Regions from separate parts of the Homo sapiens genome. Here regions 2, 3, 4 and 5 are each linked to region 1. Evidence: promoter capture Hi-C in 16 types of primary human blood cells and fetal thymus (Javierre and others, 2016). All regions are on one chromosome and are shown on one strand. The core of a region is centred on a gene start or on the middle of the fragment in contact, and the rest is flanking DNA. Distances in the headings are between cores, read along the strand shown.

What was found. The method cuts DNA at HindIII sites, captures the fragments that hold promoters and counts their contacts. A CHiCAGO score of 5 or more calls a contact.
Region 2: a fragment that was not itself captured here is called in contact with the fragment with the promoter of ZNF605 in region 1 in 5 of 17 cell types (erythroblasts, naive CD8 T cells, monocytes and 2 more); the score reaches 7.4 in erythroblasts.
Region 3: a contact is called between a fragment that was not itself captured here and the fragment with the promoter of ZNF605 in region 1, in 15 of 17 cell types (megakaryocytes, M1 macrophages, naive CD8 T cells and 12 more). The highest score is 12.0, in megakaryocytes.
Region 4: a contact is called between a fragment that was not itself captured here and the fragment with the promoter of ZNF605 in region 1, in 2 of 17 cell types (megakaryocytes and M0 macrophages). The highest score is 6.8, in megakaryocytes.
Region 5: a contact is called between the fragment with the promoter of ANKLE2 here and the fragment with the promoter of ZNF605 in region 1, in 1 of 17 cell types (naive CD4 T cells). The highest score is 5.0, in naive CD4 T cells.

The regions. Positions count from the first base shown.
Region 1 is chr12:132,954,841-132,957,910 of GRCh38, reverse strand. ZNF605 (zinc finger protein 605) reads left to right here and starts at 1,605. Exons shown (of 5, transcript NM_183238.4): 1 at 1,605-1,668. LOC124903064 (a long non-coding RNA gene) reads right to left here and starts at 1,362. Exons shown (of 2, transcript XR_007063552.1): 1 at 1,181-1,362. RefSeq lists enhancers at 1,395-1,474, 1,228-2,056, 2,334-2,628, 2,057-2,887 and a silencer at 1,635-1,974. The HindIII fragment of the contact is 12,358 bases long and covers 1-2,514 here.
Region 2 is chr12:133,169,776-133,172,975 of GRCh38, reverse strand. No RefSeq gene overlaps it. Among named protein-coding and RNA genes, the nearest start is that of ZNF268, 10 kb to the left of the region's middle. The HindIII fragment of the contact is 7,086 bases long and covers 1-3,200 here.
Region 3 is chr12:133,187,310-133,190,562 of GRCh38, reverse strand. ZNF268 (zinc finger protein 268) reads right to left here. Exons shown (of 6, transcript NM_003415.3): 3 at 2,491-2,691. Among named protein-coding and RNA genes, the nearest start is that of ZNF268, 7.4 kb to the right of the region's middle. The HindIII fragment of the contact is 1,125 bases long and covers 763-1,887 here.
Region 4 is chr12:133,117,677-133,121,085 of GRCh38, reverse strand. It overlaps ZNF891 (zinc finger protein 891), which reads left to right. Exons shown (of 2, transcript NM_001277291.2): 2 at 1-3,409. The coding sequence ends at 802. Among named protein-coding and RNA genes, the nearest start is that of ZNF891, 11 kb to the left of the region's middle. The HindIII fragment of the contact is 3,178 bases long and covers 320-3,409 here.
Region 5 is chr12:132,760,055-132,763,306 of GRCh38, reverse strand. It overlaps ANKLE2 (ankyrin repeat and LEM domain containing 2), which reads left to right and starts at 1,475. Exons shown (of 13, transcript NM_015114.3): 1 at 1,475-1,689. The coding sequence starts at 1,509. RefSeq lists enhancers at 807-906, 1,261-2,129 and silencers at 1,057-1,346, 1,437-2,026. The HindIII fragment of the contact is 14,066 bases long and covers 1-3,252 here.

The sequences.
Region 1 (3,070 bases), core at 356-2,855:
TCAACCTCCCAGGCTCAGGCAATCCTCCTGCCTCAGCCTCCAGTAGTTGGGACTACAGGGACAAGCCACTGCTTTATATATCCATAAATATATTTTATTTCCCTGTAATGTCCTCATCTCATTTATTTTTCCTTTTTTTTTTCTTGAGATGAGGTCTCACTCTGTTGCCAGGCTAGAGTGCAGCGGCATGATGGCTCACCGCAACCCCCGCCTCCCGAGTTCAAGTGATTCTCCTGCCTCAGCCTCCCGAGTAGATGGGATTACAGGCGCCCACCACCACGCCCAGCTAATGTTCTGTATTTTTAGTAGAGACGGGGTTTCACCGTGTTGGCCAGGATGGTCTCAATCTCCTGACCTGGTGATCCGCCCACCTCAGCCTCCCAAAGTGCTGGGATTACAGCCGTGAGCCACCGCGCCCAACCCTATCATCTATTTTCATTCCTTTTGTCAATACTGCTGGATTGGATGTACTAAATGTAAGGTCCTCTGAGCTGGCCGCACCATGGTCAAGCCATCGTGACATTCCCCCACCCTTGTGATAATGTACTTTGTAATATTCCCGGTCCTTGTGAATGTACTTTGTAACATTCCTCTCCGCCCTTGTGACAATACACCCTCCCCGCCCTTGTGAATGTACTTTGTAACATCCTCCCCTGCCCGCAAAAAATTGCTGCTGAGGCCGGGCGCGGTGGCTCACGCCCGTAATCCCAGCACTTTGGGAGGCCGAGGAGGGCGGATCACGAGGTCAGGAGATCAAGACCATCCTGGCTAACACAGTGAAACCCCGTCTCTACTAAAAATACAAAAAAATTAGCCGGGCGTGGTGGCGGGTGCCTGTAGTCCCAGCTACTCAGGAGGATGAGGCAGGAGAATGGCGTGAACCCGGGAGGCGGAGCTTGCAGTGAGCCGAGATCGCGCCACTGCACTCCAGCCTCGGCGACAGAGTGAGACTCTGTCTCAAAAAAAAAAAAAAAAAAAAAAATTGCTGCTGACTCCACCGCCTATCCTATCCCAAAGCTATAAGAACCAATGACAAGCCCACCACCCTCCGCTGACTCCTTTCTCAGACTCAGCCCACTTGCACCCAAGTGAATAAACAGGCGTGTTGCTCACACTTAGCCTGCTCAGGTGGTCTCCTATACGGACGCACGTAACACTAACATTTACCGATATTACTTACAGCTACGATGAAAAATGGAAAAGCAGCCGGACGCAGTGACTCATGCCTGTAATTCCAGCATTTTGGGAGGCTGGGGCAGGAGGATCATTTGAACCCAGGAGTCGGAGACCAGCCTGAGGCTGCAATGAGCGTTCATGGCACCACTGCACTCCCCACTGGGTGACAGAGCGAGACCCTGCCTCCAAAAAAAAAAAAAAAAAAAACAAGGAAAAGATGCAGACGCTTCCTCCTGGAGGCGCCTTTAGGTTCTCTCACAGACATGTTGGGCCAGCAGTGCTGGCTCCATCCTAGATTTCTTCCAGTCCTCCCCAGTTAGCCGCCAAGGGGCTTTTCCAACCGGAAACCTCCAATCCGCGACCCCGGCGGGTGCACCGCCGAGCCCCCCGGGAAGTGTAGTTCCAGCGCGAGCGGGACGCTGGGAAATGTAGTTCTGCGCGTTCACGTCCCCGATCGGGCCGTGTCCGCCGCGGCCCTGCGAGGTCCGAGGGGTAAGGGAGCGTGCAGCGGGGGCGGGACCACGAGGCGGCGGGGCTGGGGGCGGCCTCTGTGTCTGCGCCGGGGATCGCGGTGACCCCGCTGCGGACCGGCTCGCGGTGACCCCAGCGCGAACGAGCTGGCTGCCGGCTGGGGCGAGAAAGGCCTGCGGACCGGCCTGGGCGCATGCGCGGAAGGCGGGCCTCAGGCGGGGGCTCTGGGGGCGCGCGGGGGTGGGAGGCAGAGGGTGGGGTGGGGGCTGTAGGGCGGGCGGCGGCGGGGCGCTGAATGTGGGTGTCGGGGGAGATTTGGGGTCAGCTGGGCGATTCACTGGGGGCCTATGGAGGTCGCTGTAGACTTGGGGTGCAGCACGGGCGGGGCAAGGGGACGCGAGGTTGCCCTTGGCCCCAGGGGAGAGGGGCCCCTGGGAGGCCGTGTGGAGGATTTGTCTGCAGCGATTAGGACTCTGCTGATGAATGATTTGGATGCCTTTGGGTGAGCATTGGAGGCCAGCGGGGTGAATGATGAGGCTTCTGCGGGGGCCTGCGTTGGAGGGCTTAGGGGCTTGCTTGTGTGGGTTCCATTCACTGGAAAGCCTGCCGGCTGTGACAGTGTTGGATTTCACCAGAGCCCTGTGCTCCTGGAAAACAGCGAAGGTTGAGGAATTTCCCACCCTTTTGGGTTCCAGCAAATGGCTCACTGCAAAGATCTCCCGTTCCCTATATGACTTTGGTCAGCCTCCAGGATGCCCCTTGTTCACACAGACCTGCCACGTTGCCGTCGCTTGCCTCATCGGTGACTGGCTGAACTCCACCGAGCGGTCGGAGCAAAATGCTCCTTAAGCAAACTTTAGCTAAGCTTCTTTCCTTTCCCCATTTTCTTGAGCTTTGGCCCATCCCCAGCCTGAGCCAACACGCAGCCTCGCCTGAGAACAGGCTGGCTCAGGGTCAAGCTTTCCCCGCTCTGCTGTCTGGTCGCCCGCACTTCCACCTCGCTTGGCCAGGCCTGGTCTTTGCTAACCTTGTTCACACCTCTCTGTGAAAGAAAAACCCTTTTTGCCTTGCAGAGATGCACGTGAGTCTCGTGGCTTCACGGTTCTTCCCAGAAGCCCGTTCTCCTTCCCCTTCCCAACCCTCTTCCGCGTCTTTTTTTCCCCACTTCCAATAACCCTTTGGAACCGTCTTTCTTTGCTCTGTCCAGTTGTATGTTTTATTTGACAGCTGAATAACAGTGGTTGCTCTTTCAACCCCTGTCTCCAATAGCGGAGGCGAGTATGGGGTGGCCTATGCTGGCGAGTGGCTGGGGTTTGTTTCTGTGCTTGTGTTTGGGGATCTTATGATGGAAGCATTAGGAATGGCGCTGTGTATTTGTGACAAGGGAGTCTGGATGTAAGTTAATGGTGGACCTGTTGCAAGT
Region 2 (3,200 bases), core at 685-3,184, 210 kb before region 1:
ACTGCACCGAGATCACCAATGACAGGTGCATGCACTAACACTGACAGGGCTTGTGGGGCCATCCTCAGGCCCCTAGTGAAATGCCCAGCTTAGGGGCAAGTGCTCCTGTGTCAGGGGCTCAGCATGGAGAGAGTAGGGCAGTCTCAGCACTGCAGCCTTGGCAGGCAGGAGTGGGGCCTGCTTCCCTCTCACATCCCAGTCCCAGTAAGGCTCACTCCCTAACCCAGACTGTGTCCGCCAATCTGCATATTTATTCAGTCACTGCAGTTTCCTTCTATTCTGCAATGCAGCCCCAGGCAATAGGAGTCATTGCCTGGCTCAATACCATGCCTCCCCAGAAGTTCTCCCCCTGCTCCAGTCAGAAGGTGGGGACAGCCCAGTTCAAGTGCCAGCAGCTGGAGCACACACCAGACTTGATTCTCCATTCTGGCTGTAGGAGTCCCTCACCAACTTGAGCCCCAGTTCCCTGAGTCCCAGCATGAGTCTCTAACACAGTCAACTGATGCCACTGCTAGCTCCCTGGACTCAGTACAGCTTTATAAGAGCTAGGATTGAGAATAACATCCTATTATTGTAGACGCCCAGGTCTAGAGGAGTTCATGGGATACTTCCCAAAGCAGCTCTTCCTCACAGTCTACTGACTGCTCCCAAGTTAGATCCAGGGCTCAGGAGGATCAAGGTGCTCTCCTGTGGCCTGGATTGCACAATTCCCTAGAGGGAAAATGAACCACAGAAAGGCACTCAGTTACCCTCTCCCATATCAGGGATTCACTCCCAGTTTTTGGCCAATTGCAGCCCTGCAGGCTGCCTGCCCTCCTTCTCTTCCCCAGATTCTGGAGATTCCCTTTGCTTTTCTTTTGAACTCCTATGTTCCCTCTTGGATAATATGTTCAAAGTGTGATTGCCCAGACACTAGTTTGGTTCATAGAAGTGGATAAGGTGAACTGAAAAAGCCTCTAGTCAGCCATCTTGGGGAAAGAAAACCAAAATTGTATTTTTCTCTTGAAAATTCTACTTTTATATTGACCAATAAATAAATAAATAATAAAACCCTGTCATTTGCCTTCCTTTAAGTGACAAGTTTACTTGGTTGATTTTTGAGAGAATACCTGCAAAGGTTTCTCAGTCCTTCTTTAATGCAAAGTTCAGCTCCCAATGTAAAGTTCACCTCTCAATGTAAATAATCACACAAATGCTTTTTCTTGAGACAACTGTGGAACTTCAGTATACAGCACAGAACGTTCATTGCACAGATATTAAAAAGAGATGTATTTAGGCCAGGCGTGGTGGCTCACGCCTGTAATCCCAGCACTTAAGAACGCCGAGGCAGGCAGATCATGAGGTCAGGAGTTTGAGACCATCCTGGCTAACACGGTGAAACCCCGTCTCTACTAAAAATACAAAAAAATTAGCTGGGCGTGGTGGCGGGCGCCTGTAGTTCCAGCTACTCGGGAGGCTGAGGCAGGAGAATGGTGTGAACCCAGGAGGCAGAGCTTGCAGTGAGCCGAGATCGCGCCACTGCACTCCAGCCTGTGCGACAGAGCGAGACTCCATCTCAAAAAAAAAAGAGATGTATTTAAGAGTTGATATTTAATAAAATGACTCTTTACTGCTTTATCAAAGACATCCTAAAGTTAAATTGACTTCCTTTAAAAAATACAAATCTGGGTGGAGAGGCTCATCTCTGTAATCCCAGCTACTTGGGAGGCTGAGGTGGGAGGATCACATGAGGCCAGCAGTATGAGACCAGCCTGGATAACATAGCGAGACCCCATCTCTAAATAAAATAAAATTACCCAGGTACGGTGGTGAACACCTACAGTTCTAGCTACTCAGGAGACTGAGGCAGGAAGACTGCTTGAGCCCAGGAGTTTGAGGCGGCAGTGAGCTATGATCATGCTACTGCACTCCAACCTAGGCAACAGAGCTAGACCCTGTCTCAAACAAACAAACAAAACTATGAACGTGTAGTGATGAAGAATACAATGGCTGCTAATAAATATCTTTTTTTGCTATTACCTTGATTGATGCTGAAGTGCCAGCAGTTTTACCCACCATCGTTTTGTACCATCAGTGCAAATTTCAACACAGTAGATAACCGCTTAAAATTGGAAATATCAGTGTTTACTGTAAAATTATTTAAACTCTTCTGTAAGTTTGAAATTTTTCATAAGAAAATATTAGGGGAAAAGTCATTATGGAAAAGATAAACTTTTCAATAAACTGTATAGGAACAACAAGGTAGCTATATAATAATATAAATAAAGATGGCTGTCTCACAATATATTTAAAATAAATCTCAGGTAGATTAAGTACGTCAACTAGGCTGGGTGTGGTGGCTAATGCCACCAAAGCACTTTGGACAATTTGAGAAGACCTCATCTCTAAAAAAAATTTGTTTAAATTAGCTGGGGTGGGGGTGCATACCCGTAGTCCCAGCTACTCAGGAGGCTGAGGCAGGAGGATCCTTTGAGCCAGGAGTTTGAGGCTGCAGTGAGCTATGATCATGCCACAGTACTCCAGCCTGGGTGTCTCTTTAAAAAAAAGTATGTCAGGCTTTAAAAAAAATCAGGCTTTAAAAAATTTTATATATTATATTATATTTTATTTTTATTTTTAGGAACATGATCTTGCTCTGTTGCCCCAGATGAAGTGCAGTGGTATAATCATAGCTCAAGGTAACCTCAAACTCCTGGGCTCAAGTGATCCTCTCACCTCAGCCTCCCAAGTAACTAAGACTACAGGTATGCACCACCATGCCTGACTTTTTTTTTTTTTTTTGGAGAGATACAGTCTCACCACGTTGCCAAGGATGGTCTCAAACTCCTGGCCTCAAGTGATCCTCCAGCCTCAGGCTCCCAAAGTGCTCTTTAGCAAAGCTCATTACCCAAGATAAGGGAAAAGATATTCAGGTATGGTGACATGCCTGTAGTCCCAGCTACTTGGGTGGCTGAGGTGGCGGAGGATTGCTTGAGCCCAGGAGTTCGAGGTTTCAGCGAGCTATGATTACACCATTGCACTCCAGCATGAGTGACAGAGTGAGACTTCCATCTCTTAAAAAAAAACAAACAGAAATGTTCACACAAAGACATGTACATAAATGTTACCAGAAGCATTATTCATAATAGCCAAAAAGTGGGAACAACCCAAATATCCAACAACTAATGTTTGAAAAACAAAATGAGACATATCTATACAAT
Region 3 (3,253 bases), core at 76-2,575, 230 kb before region 1:
CATGCTCAATACCATATGTCATTAGGGAATTGCAAATCCAGACAAAAGTAAGACACCACTACACACCTATTAGAATGGATAAAATCCAAAAAACTGACCACCAAATGCTGGAGAGGATGTGGAGCAATAGGAACTCTTATTCATTGCTGGTGGGAATGAAAAGTGGTAGAGTCACTTTGGAAGCCAGTTTGGCAACTTCTTACAAATCTAAACAGTCTTACCATATAATCCAGCAACTATGCCCCAGGTATTTATACAAATGAAAACTTACGTCAAAGCAAAAATAGAAGACACACATGACAAGCATCAGATATGAAAAGAAGTTATCATTACTGAATTCACAGACAAGAAAAGACTAACTGCTCTGCGCACATAAATTTGGTTAAGTTAGTTGAAAAGGACATATTCCTTGGAAGACGCAAATTACCAAACTTACTCAAAAACAGATAAACTTGGGCCAGGCGCCATGGCTCACGCCTGTAACCCTAGCACTTTGGGAGGCCGAGGCGGGCAGATCACAAAGTCAGGAGAACGAGACCATCCTGGCTAACATGGTGAAACTTCGTCTCTACTAAAAATACAAAAAAATTAGCCGGGCATGGTGGCACATGCCTGTAGTCCTAGCTGCTCAGGAGGCTGAGGCAGGAGACTCACTTGAACCCAGGAAGCAGAGGTTACAGTGAGCCGAGGTCGTGCCACTGTGCTCCAGCCTAGGCGACAGAGCGAGACTCCGTCTCAAAAAAACAAACAAACAGATAAGCTTAATTATTACATATCTATTAAAGAAATAAAATTTGTAGTTAACAGCATACAGATTGGAAAGAAACAAAACTGTCCTTTTTTACAGAGAGAGTAAGGAAACTGAGGATGCCAACGAAAAGATGAAGATGACACGACTGTTTATGAAGAAAATACCAAAAAACCTAAGAAAGTTCCTAGAACTAACTAGTGAATGTAGCAAGGTCACAGGATACATGGTCAATACATAAAAGTTGGCTATATGCCTATATAACAGCAATAAATCATTTGATTTTGAAATTAAGAAACTAGCTGGATGCCGTGGCTCACACCTGTATTCCCAGCATTTTAGGAGGCCGAGGCAGGTGAATCACTTGAGGTCAGGAGTTTGAAACCAGCCTGGCCAACATGGTGAAACCCTGTCTCTACTACAAATACAAAAATTAGCCGGGTATGGTAGTGCGCACCTGTAGTCCCAGCTACTCGGGAGGCTGAGGTAGGAGAACTGCTTGAACCCAGGAGGCAGAGGCTGCAGTGAGCCCAGATTGTGCCACTGCACTCCAGCCTGAGTGACAGAGCAAGACTCCATCTCAAAAAAAAAAAAAAAAAAGGAATTAAGACACTGATACTGTTTACAACAGCAACAACAAAACAGAAAGAACTTACATATAAATCTAAAATATCTGTGTAGGATCTGTATGCTCAAAACTATAAACATTGACTTTTAAAAATCAAAGATCTAAATAATGGGGGAATCCTGTGTTCATGGATTTGAACTCAATCCCAAAGGCACTGTAAATCGAAAAGTGAAAGGTAAAGTAATAAAGTAATAAAGAAAAAGATCTTTATGAGCTTAGGATAAGAAAACAATAGGACACAAAAATCATTAGCAATAAAATAAAAAAATTTGCAATCCAGACTCAGTAAAAGTTAGAAATATCTGTTCATCAAAAGTAAGCATTAAGAGACTAAAAAAGCAAGCCAATATTGGAAGTAAAAGAAGCACCCGAGGAAAAAATTTGAATATAGGCTTCATAGTAAGTTTGTTTTAAACTTTAATGTGCATGAATCACTGAATCTTATTAAAATGAAGAGTCTGATATTAACAGCATTGAGGTGAACTCTGATATTCTGCATTTCTAACAAGCTTCCCGAACAATACATATTACGTAAACACACATTTTTTAAAAAAAAGGATACACATAAAACACAAAATAACTTTTTGGGGATGGGAAAGGAGATGAAAATTGAGTATGAGGAAATAAGAGAATATATAAATAAAGGTAGATAAGGACCTTACATGAACCAATGATGATAAAAGGGCCATGGGCCAGGCACAGTGGCTCATGACTGTCATCCCAGCACCTCAGGAGGCTGAGGCAGGAGGACTGCTTGAGCTTAGGAGTTGATGACCAGCCTGAGCCACACAGGGAGACCTCCTCTCTACTAAAAATAAAAAACATCAGCCAGGCATGGTGGCACTTGCCTGCTGTCCCAGCTACTCAAGAGGCTGAGGCTGGAGGATCACTTGAGCCTGGAGTTTGAGGCTGCAGTGAGTTATGATTGCACCACTGCGCTCCACTCTGGGCAACAGACCAAGACCCTGTCTCAAAAAAAAAAGTGGGGGGGTTTTGAACTGAACTGAGGAGTGATTAACTTAACCCTCTGACCTAAGGATCTCCATCCCTCTCTGCACCAAAAAAAAAAAAGGTAATAAAGAAAACACTAGGAATAAACAAATGAGAAGCTCACCCAGGACTTGGTGATTTTTGGCTGCTCTTGGGAAATAAACAGCCACTCTAGGACTTTCTCTATTCTGCGACTCTTCTGCTTCTGCCTGGGTGTTCCAGGGAGAGGTTGCAGACCAGGAGTCCCTTGGCCCAAGATGGATTCCTGACCTTGGAGCTTTCTGATCCTATCCCATGAACTGTTTCGTTCTTGGAGAGGTGGGACCTGTGGACTCAAGAGCAAATTTACTTTAGCGAGCATTATTTCCTTTGGGGAAAAGGAAATAGGGGTCACATCACATAAATGTGAGAGAAACACGTTAGAAAACAAGGCAGGTTTAACTTCAGGAAATGCAGGGTTAGAGGCAGAAAAGAAATGGCTTCCTGACAAGGCTTAGCACCAAGAGTTCAAGTCAAGTTTTGAGCCCTTCATGATAAAAATACAGGTACGACCCTCAAACAGCAAAGCTAGAGAAAACTGTCCTGGCTCATCCTAGCCTCCAAACGGACTTCCTGCCACAAACCAAATGGCGTCTTAATAGGCTGGTTTGGTAGGGCAGTAGGAATACCCACACAACATTATTATGAGGGAATAAGGAACCAAACGAGGCTCTGACAGACAATAAAAACATAACCAAAATATCTGACCACATAAAAAATTGTAACATAATATTTCAAAATGAAGTAAAAGAAATCAGAAAAACGAAACTTTGAAAGGACAGATATATAAAAAATAAAAGAGCCTAGAAAGTAGATGCTTAGAAATGTGAAATCTGGAAAATGTGAAA
Region 4 (3,409 bases), core at 659-3,158, 160 kb before region 1:
TAATATGTTTCCTGTACCTAACAATTTGCATATGGCACAGAATGCCTGTGAATGTAATAAAGATGAAACGCTGTGTCATCAATCATCCCTTAAGAAACAAGGACAAACTCATACTGAAAAGAAACATGAATGCAATCAATGTGGAAAAGCCTTCAAAAGGATTTCTAATCTTACTTTATACAAGAAAAGTCACATGGGTGAGAAACAATATGAATGTAAAGAATGTGGTAAAGTGTTCAATGATTCCTCAACCTTAAGGAGACATGTAAGAACTCACACTGGAGAGAAACCCTATGAATGTAATCAATGTGGAAAAGCTTTCAGTCAAAAAACATCCCTTAAGGCTCACATGAGAACTCACACTGGAGAGAAACCTTATGAATGTAATCAGTGTGGAAAATCCTTTGGCACAAGCTCTTACCTTATAGTGCACAAGAGAATACACACTGGAGAAAAACTCTATGAATGCAGTGAGTGTGGAAAAGCCTTCAACACGAGCTCTCACCTTAAAGTTCATAAGAAAATTCATACCGGAGAGAATGTTTATGAATGCAGTGACTGTGGGAAAGTTTTCAGTGGGGTCTCATCCCTTAGAATGCATATAAGAACTCACACTGGAGAGAAACCCTATGAATGTAAGGAATGTAGGAAAGCCTTCAGTGTTTCCTCTTCCCTTAGGAGGCATGTGAGAATTCACACTGGAGAGAAACCCTATGAATGTATTCAATGTGGAAAAGCCTTCAGTCAGAGCTCTTCACTTATTATACACAAGAGAATTCATACTGAGAGAGAAACCCTGTAAGTGTTATGAATGTGGAATTGCTGTTTTCATTGTCTTAAGGTGGATTCCAAGCTCCTTGTCTCAGTCTTTGTTCTCTAAAAGAACGATTTAAGGTTACAAATGGCTCTTTTTTTAATATAACATTTTCTGTAAATACTAATTATGACTTTTTTTGATCCATGGCTGTTTAGAATTAGGTATTTTTAATATGTGAGGTAGGTATATTTTCAGTTATCTTTTTATTGTTGGTTTCTAGGTTAATTCCATTGTGTTCAGAGAATCTGGACTATATTTTACTGCTTTGTTGGTGTTTTTATAAAAGTTGTTTTCTGGCCCAGTGAGACTGGTATTGCTAGCAGCCAACCAAACATTTGAGCTCATCTTTCCTTACTAATGAATTCCATCTTAGCCAAGAACAATAAGGTCTCTGGTTATAGAACGCTTCTTTGACTTCTTGTAGCTAAGGGTAGCCATATCATTCATTCTTGCTGATTCAAAAATAGACATATCACTGGGATCAGAACTATCTATCTTGTCCTCTACTTTTTGCACTTCATCTTTGTCCCTATGAATTGGCCATTCCTGAAGCTGCTGAAAGAGCTATCTTGTGATCATGAAAATGACAGCTGTAGCCAAGGGATGAAGTAGAAGAAAGAGATCCCTGTTCCTCAAAGAAATCTTTAAATAGTTGTACCAGCCCTGCACTACTTGTATCTGGATATGTTCCTACATGAGAAAAATAAGGTTTTTTGTTTGTTTTTTGAGATGGAGTCTCGGTATGTTGCCCAGGCTGGAGTGCAGTGGCACAATCTCAGCTCACTGCAACCTCCACCTCCCAGGTTCAGGTGATTCTCCTGCCTCAGCCTCCTGAGTAGCTGGGATTACAGGCACCACCGCCATGCCTGGCTAATTTTAGTATTTTTAATAGAGACGGGGTTTCACCATGTTGGCCAGGTTGGTCTCAAACTCCTGACCTCAGGTGATCCACCCACCTAGGCGTCCCAAAGTGTTGGCATTACAGGCGTGAGCCACTGTGCCCGGCCAAGAAAAATATGTTAATTGATTTTTTCTTTTTTTTTTTCAATTTTTCAGACAGAGTCTCTGTCTCTCAGGCTAGAATGCAGTGGTGTGGTCATGGCTCATTGCAACCTCGACCTCCTGGGCTCAGGTGATCCACCACAGTCTCCTCAGTAGTTGGGATCACAAATGCATGCCACCATGCCTGGCTAATTTTAAAAATATATATTTTGTAGAGACAGGCTCTTCCTACATTGCTCAGACTGGTCTGAAACTCCTGGGCTCAAGCAGTCCTCCTGCCTTTGCCTCCCAAAGTGCTAGGATTCCAGGCATGAGTTACCATGCCTGGCTCTTACTGATTTTTTTTAAAGCACTACATAAATACAGTCAACGCAGTCACCATATTGTAGAAAAACAGAAGTATATACAGTTAAATGTTTTATGTTGGATGTACACATTTGAAGAGGAACATAGAAAAAAAGTATGGAAAAGGAATGTTGACCGAGCTTTTATGCTTAAGCAGCAGATGAAGATAGAACCAAGATCACTGAAAGCAAGTGTTTAGAACAGCAAAAAGAGTATCCCAACATTTCAGCATTGGAACTACAGAAAGTTTTCAGACAGAGGGGAAGTTACCAATTTTAAATGCTAAGTAAAGCATGAGATTTTGCTGCTTGATCTTGCAGATACTGACCAGATTAGTTCTAACAAAATATGGAAGGAGTGGCATACGGTGGAAGAAAGAAGGCAGTAGCTGCTGTTGTAGTTATTCATGTTAGCCTCAGAGGATGGTGAGACATCCAGATGAAGAGGTTGGTACGCAATTCTAGAATTGAGGAGGTGTCTAGATAGAGATATAAATTGTAGTGACATCAGTAAAGAGACAATAACAGGCTTTGGAAGGTGAGTAAGAATGAAAAGGGAAGGTCTGCCACCTACCCTGAAGACATACATTTAAAGGAACTATAGTAGAGAGATAAGAGGAAAACAAGAAGAGTGGAGTTTCACTGAACCAAGACAAACAAGTTTCAAAAAGGAAGGTGAAGTTGGCCAGGTGTGGTGGTTCACGCCTGTAATCCTGGCACTTTGAGAGGCTGAGGCAGGCGGATCACAAGGTCAGATCGAGACCATCCTGGCCAACATGGTGAAACCCTGGTTCTACTAAAATACAAAAATTAGCCGGGTGTGGTGGCACATGCCTGTAGTCCCAGCTACTCAGGAGCTGAGGCAGAAGAATCACTTGAACCTGGGAGGCAGAGGTTGCAGTGAGATGAGATCTCACCACTGCACTCCAGCCTGGTGACAGAGCAGGACTTCATCTCAAAAAAAAAAAAAAAAAAAGGAAGGTGAAGGTAAATGTTTTTAGTGTTACTTAGGGATCCAATTAGATGAAGTCTAAAAAGGTAAACATATACAGCCAAGTGAAGATCATTTGTGATTGTAGTTGGAAATAACATAGTGGTACATAATGAAGATGGTTGCTAGATTGGGCTGACTTTAGGAATCAATAAAGGGCAAAGAAGTAAAGACTGGATGTAGACAAGTTTGAATAATAGGAGAAAGGGTAGTAGCTGGAGAGATTTGGAGTAAAGAGATAATATGTTTAAAATA
Region 5 (3,252 bases), core at 226-2,725, 190 kb after region 1:
TGCCAGCAAAATTTGATATTGCCAATTTTTAAATTTTAGCCATTCTGGTGGATTTCAAGCAGCATCTCATCGTGGTTTGAATTTCCATTTCATCCATCTTCAAAATTACTGACCCTTTCTTCTGTAGTGCCCAACCAACCATTAGTACCATCCAATGATATTTTTTAAGAGATGGGGTCTTGCTATGTTGGTCAGGCTGGCGTGCAGTGGCTATTCACAGGCGAGATCACGCTCATGGCAGCCTCGAACTCCCGGACTGAAACTACCATCACCCCTCACGCTCCAGAGTTGCTGAGACTACAGACCTGAGCCACCTCGCTCAGATCAATTATGTTTTTAACCAAGGATATCAATTATATTTTTCAGGTCTTTCATTTTCATTTAATAATATCTAAATTAGGCGGGGCGCGGTGGCTCACGCCTGTAATCCCAGCACTTTGGGAGGCCGAGGCTGGTGGATCACTTGACATCAAGAATTCGAGACCAGTCTGGCCAACATGAGGAAACCCCGTCTCTACTAAACATGCAAAAATTAGCCAGGCGTGGTGGTGGGCACCTGTAATCCCAGCTACTTGGGAGGCTGAGGCAGGAGAATCGCTTGAGCCCAGGAGGCGGAGGCTGCAGTGAGCCGAGATCGCGCCACTGCACTTCAGCCTGGGCGACAGAGCAAGACACCGCATCAAAAAATAAATAAAACATCTAAATTACATACAGTAAAATCCTCCTTCCCTTTTTCGAGACAGGGTCTCACTATTAGGTTGGTGCAAAAGTAATTGCGGCTTTTACCATGACTTTCAAAATATTTGCCCGGGCTGGTCTCGAGCTCCCGGGCCGTGGGGATCCTCCCGCCTCGCCTCCCAAGGCGCTGGGACTCCGGACGCAGCCGCCGCGCCCGGCAAAATCCGCGCTTTCAACTGCGCGTCAGGGCCCCTTGGTGAAGGAGCGGGAAGCTCCGCCGGTCTCCATAGCGCCGGCGGCCTGTTCTGCGGGTTCGCGGGGGAGTGAGAGGCGCTTCCTCACTCCTGCTCCAGGACGGGACGACGGCCGCAAACAGTACTCGGGCTCGGAGCACACGAACCCGGAGGCCGCTTCGTTCTCGGAGACGCACAGCGCCCCACGGACGCCAGGCCGGGGCCGGGAGGCGCGAAGAAGCGCCGCCCCGCGCCCGGCCCCGCCCTGGTGGCCTCCCCGGGCCCCAGCCCCGGCCCCCGCCAGCACATTGCGCTCCCCGCGCCTCGCCGGTCCCAGGACCCCGCGTCGGGCTGCCCGCGCCCCGCCTGCCGCGCCCGCCCGTCCGCTCGCCCGTTCCCGCCCGCTTGGGTCCCAGGGCCGGGGCCGCGCCCTCGCCGGGCCTCCGCGAGCGGGGCCGCCGTCCGTGTCCCCCGCGCCGCCCCGGCCGCCTCGAGCGCGGCGCCGTCAGGCAGGGCGCGGGCAGCCCGGCGCGGGGTCCTGGGACGGGCGCGGCGCGGGGCGCGGGCTTCTCGGCGGCTGCGGCCCGGGCGGCGGCGATGCTGTGGCCGCGGCTGGCGGCGGCCGAGTGGGCGGCGCTGGCCTGGGAGCTGCTGGGCGCCTCGGTGCTGCTGATCGCTGTGCGGTGGCTGGTGCGGCGGCTGGGCCCGCGGCCGGGAGGTCTGGGCCGCAGCGGGACCCCAGTTCCTCCGCCAAGCGCGGCCGCCGCCCCCGCCTCAGGTAAGGCCCAGGCGGTCGCTGGGTCCCCGCACCCTGGCCCCTTCCCCGCCCCGACGCCCTCCTCGGGCCTGGGGTCCCGGCCGCGCCCCTGGAGCCGGCAGCAGTTGGGCGAGGCGGCCGGGGAAACCAGGGCCGGTCGGGAAAGGCCATTCCGGCCGCGGAAAGGGCAGTTGCGGGGACTTGGCTTCCCGGGCCGGGGGCGGAGGGGCCACGCCGGGTTCGGGGGTGAGAGCTTTCCCGGGCCCTGGAGCAGCCTCCGGGGAAGGCGGCGGGGGCCCGGCGAGGCGTTAGCGGAGACTCTTGCTGCGGTCTCTCGAGACCTGGGGAGGGATGGCCCAAAGGAGGGCGGCGCGGGGAGGAAACCCCTGGGTCCCGGATGTGTTTGGAACGTGAAGCCATTGCGGTTACTGGTCATGGAACATAAGGCAGAGACGGAAAAGGCAAATGTAACTCAGGGGTTTGGGGCCAGAGGAAGAGGGAGAAGGTGGCCATTTATTGCTTTGCGGTAGACTGTCGGGTCTGGGTGATGTGGAGATCAGAGGTGGGTTTTGGTCGTTTTAAGTTTGAGGTAACTGATACAGTGAACTGTGTATTTCAGCTCCATCCCCTTTTCCTGGCATACAACTCTTGAAATCCCGGGAACCTCCAAAGTGATGTCTTTTGTAGGCTGAGTGGACTGGTGGCCGGCAGCCCCTAGGGAGCTTCTGGATGGGGCTGGTCGCAGGAAAGACCAAGGCAGGGTTAGAGGTTCTGGGGACTTTCAGCCCCACCCCCAACCTCTGGGGAGGAGAGAGGGGTGAAGGTTGCGTTGATCACCAGTGGCTGATGAATCACGCCTGTGAAATGAAGTTCCTGTAAAAACCCAAAAGGGCTGGGTTCAGGGAGCTTCCAGATAGTACGTGGGGGTTCCTGGAGGCGGTGCCCAGAGAGGCCCTGAATTTCCAAGCGCTTCCCCCCGGTTTTACGTCACGCATCTCTTCACCTGTATTCTTTGTAATCCTTTATACTCTGCTGGTAAGTGTAAGTAAAACATGTCTGTGAGTTCGGGAGCCACTCTAGCAAATTACCGCAACCTGAGGAGGTCACCGGGTTACGCCCCGTCGGTCCCAAGCGCAGGTCAAACAACCTGGGCACTGGAAGTGGGGGGCAGTCTTGCGGGGCTGAGCCGTTAACCTGTGGGGGTCTGCTGGTATCTCCAGGAAGACGCTGTCAGAATAGATGACTGAATTAGGATGACAGACGACACCCAGCCTGTGTCCACTGCAGAACTGACGACCTGCGTGATTTGTGGGGAGAAAATCCCCACATACCTGGTGTCCGAAGCATGTTGCAAGACTAGTGGGAGAAACTGAGTTTGTTTTTACTCTAAATTGTCAGACTGTTAGTCACTGCGGAGAGGTGCTTTCTGATGATTGAGTGGGGATTCCTGTCCAATTGTGTGAGTTTGTGTCTCGGCCCTACCACTTTTTTTTTTTTTTTTTTTTGAAATGTAGTCTCGCCCTGTGGCCCAGGCTGGAGTGCAGTGGCGCGATCTCGGCTCACTGCAAGCTCCGCCTCCCGGGT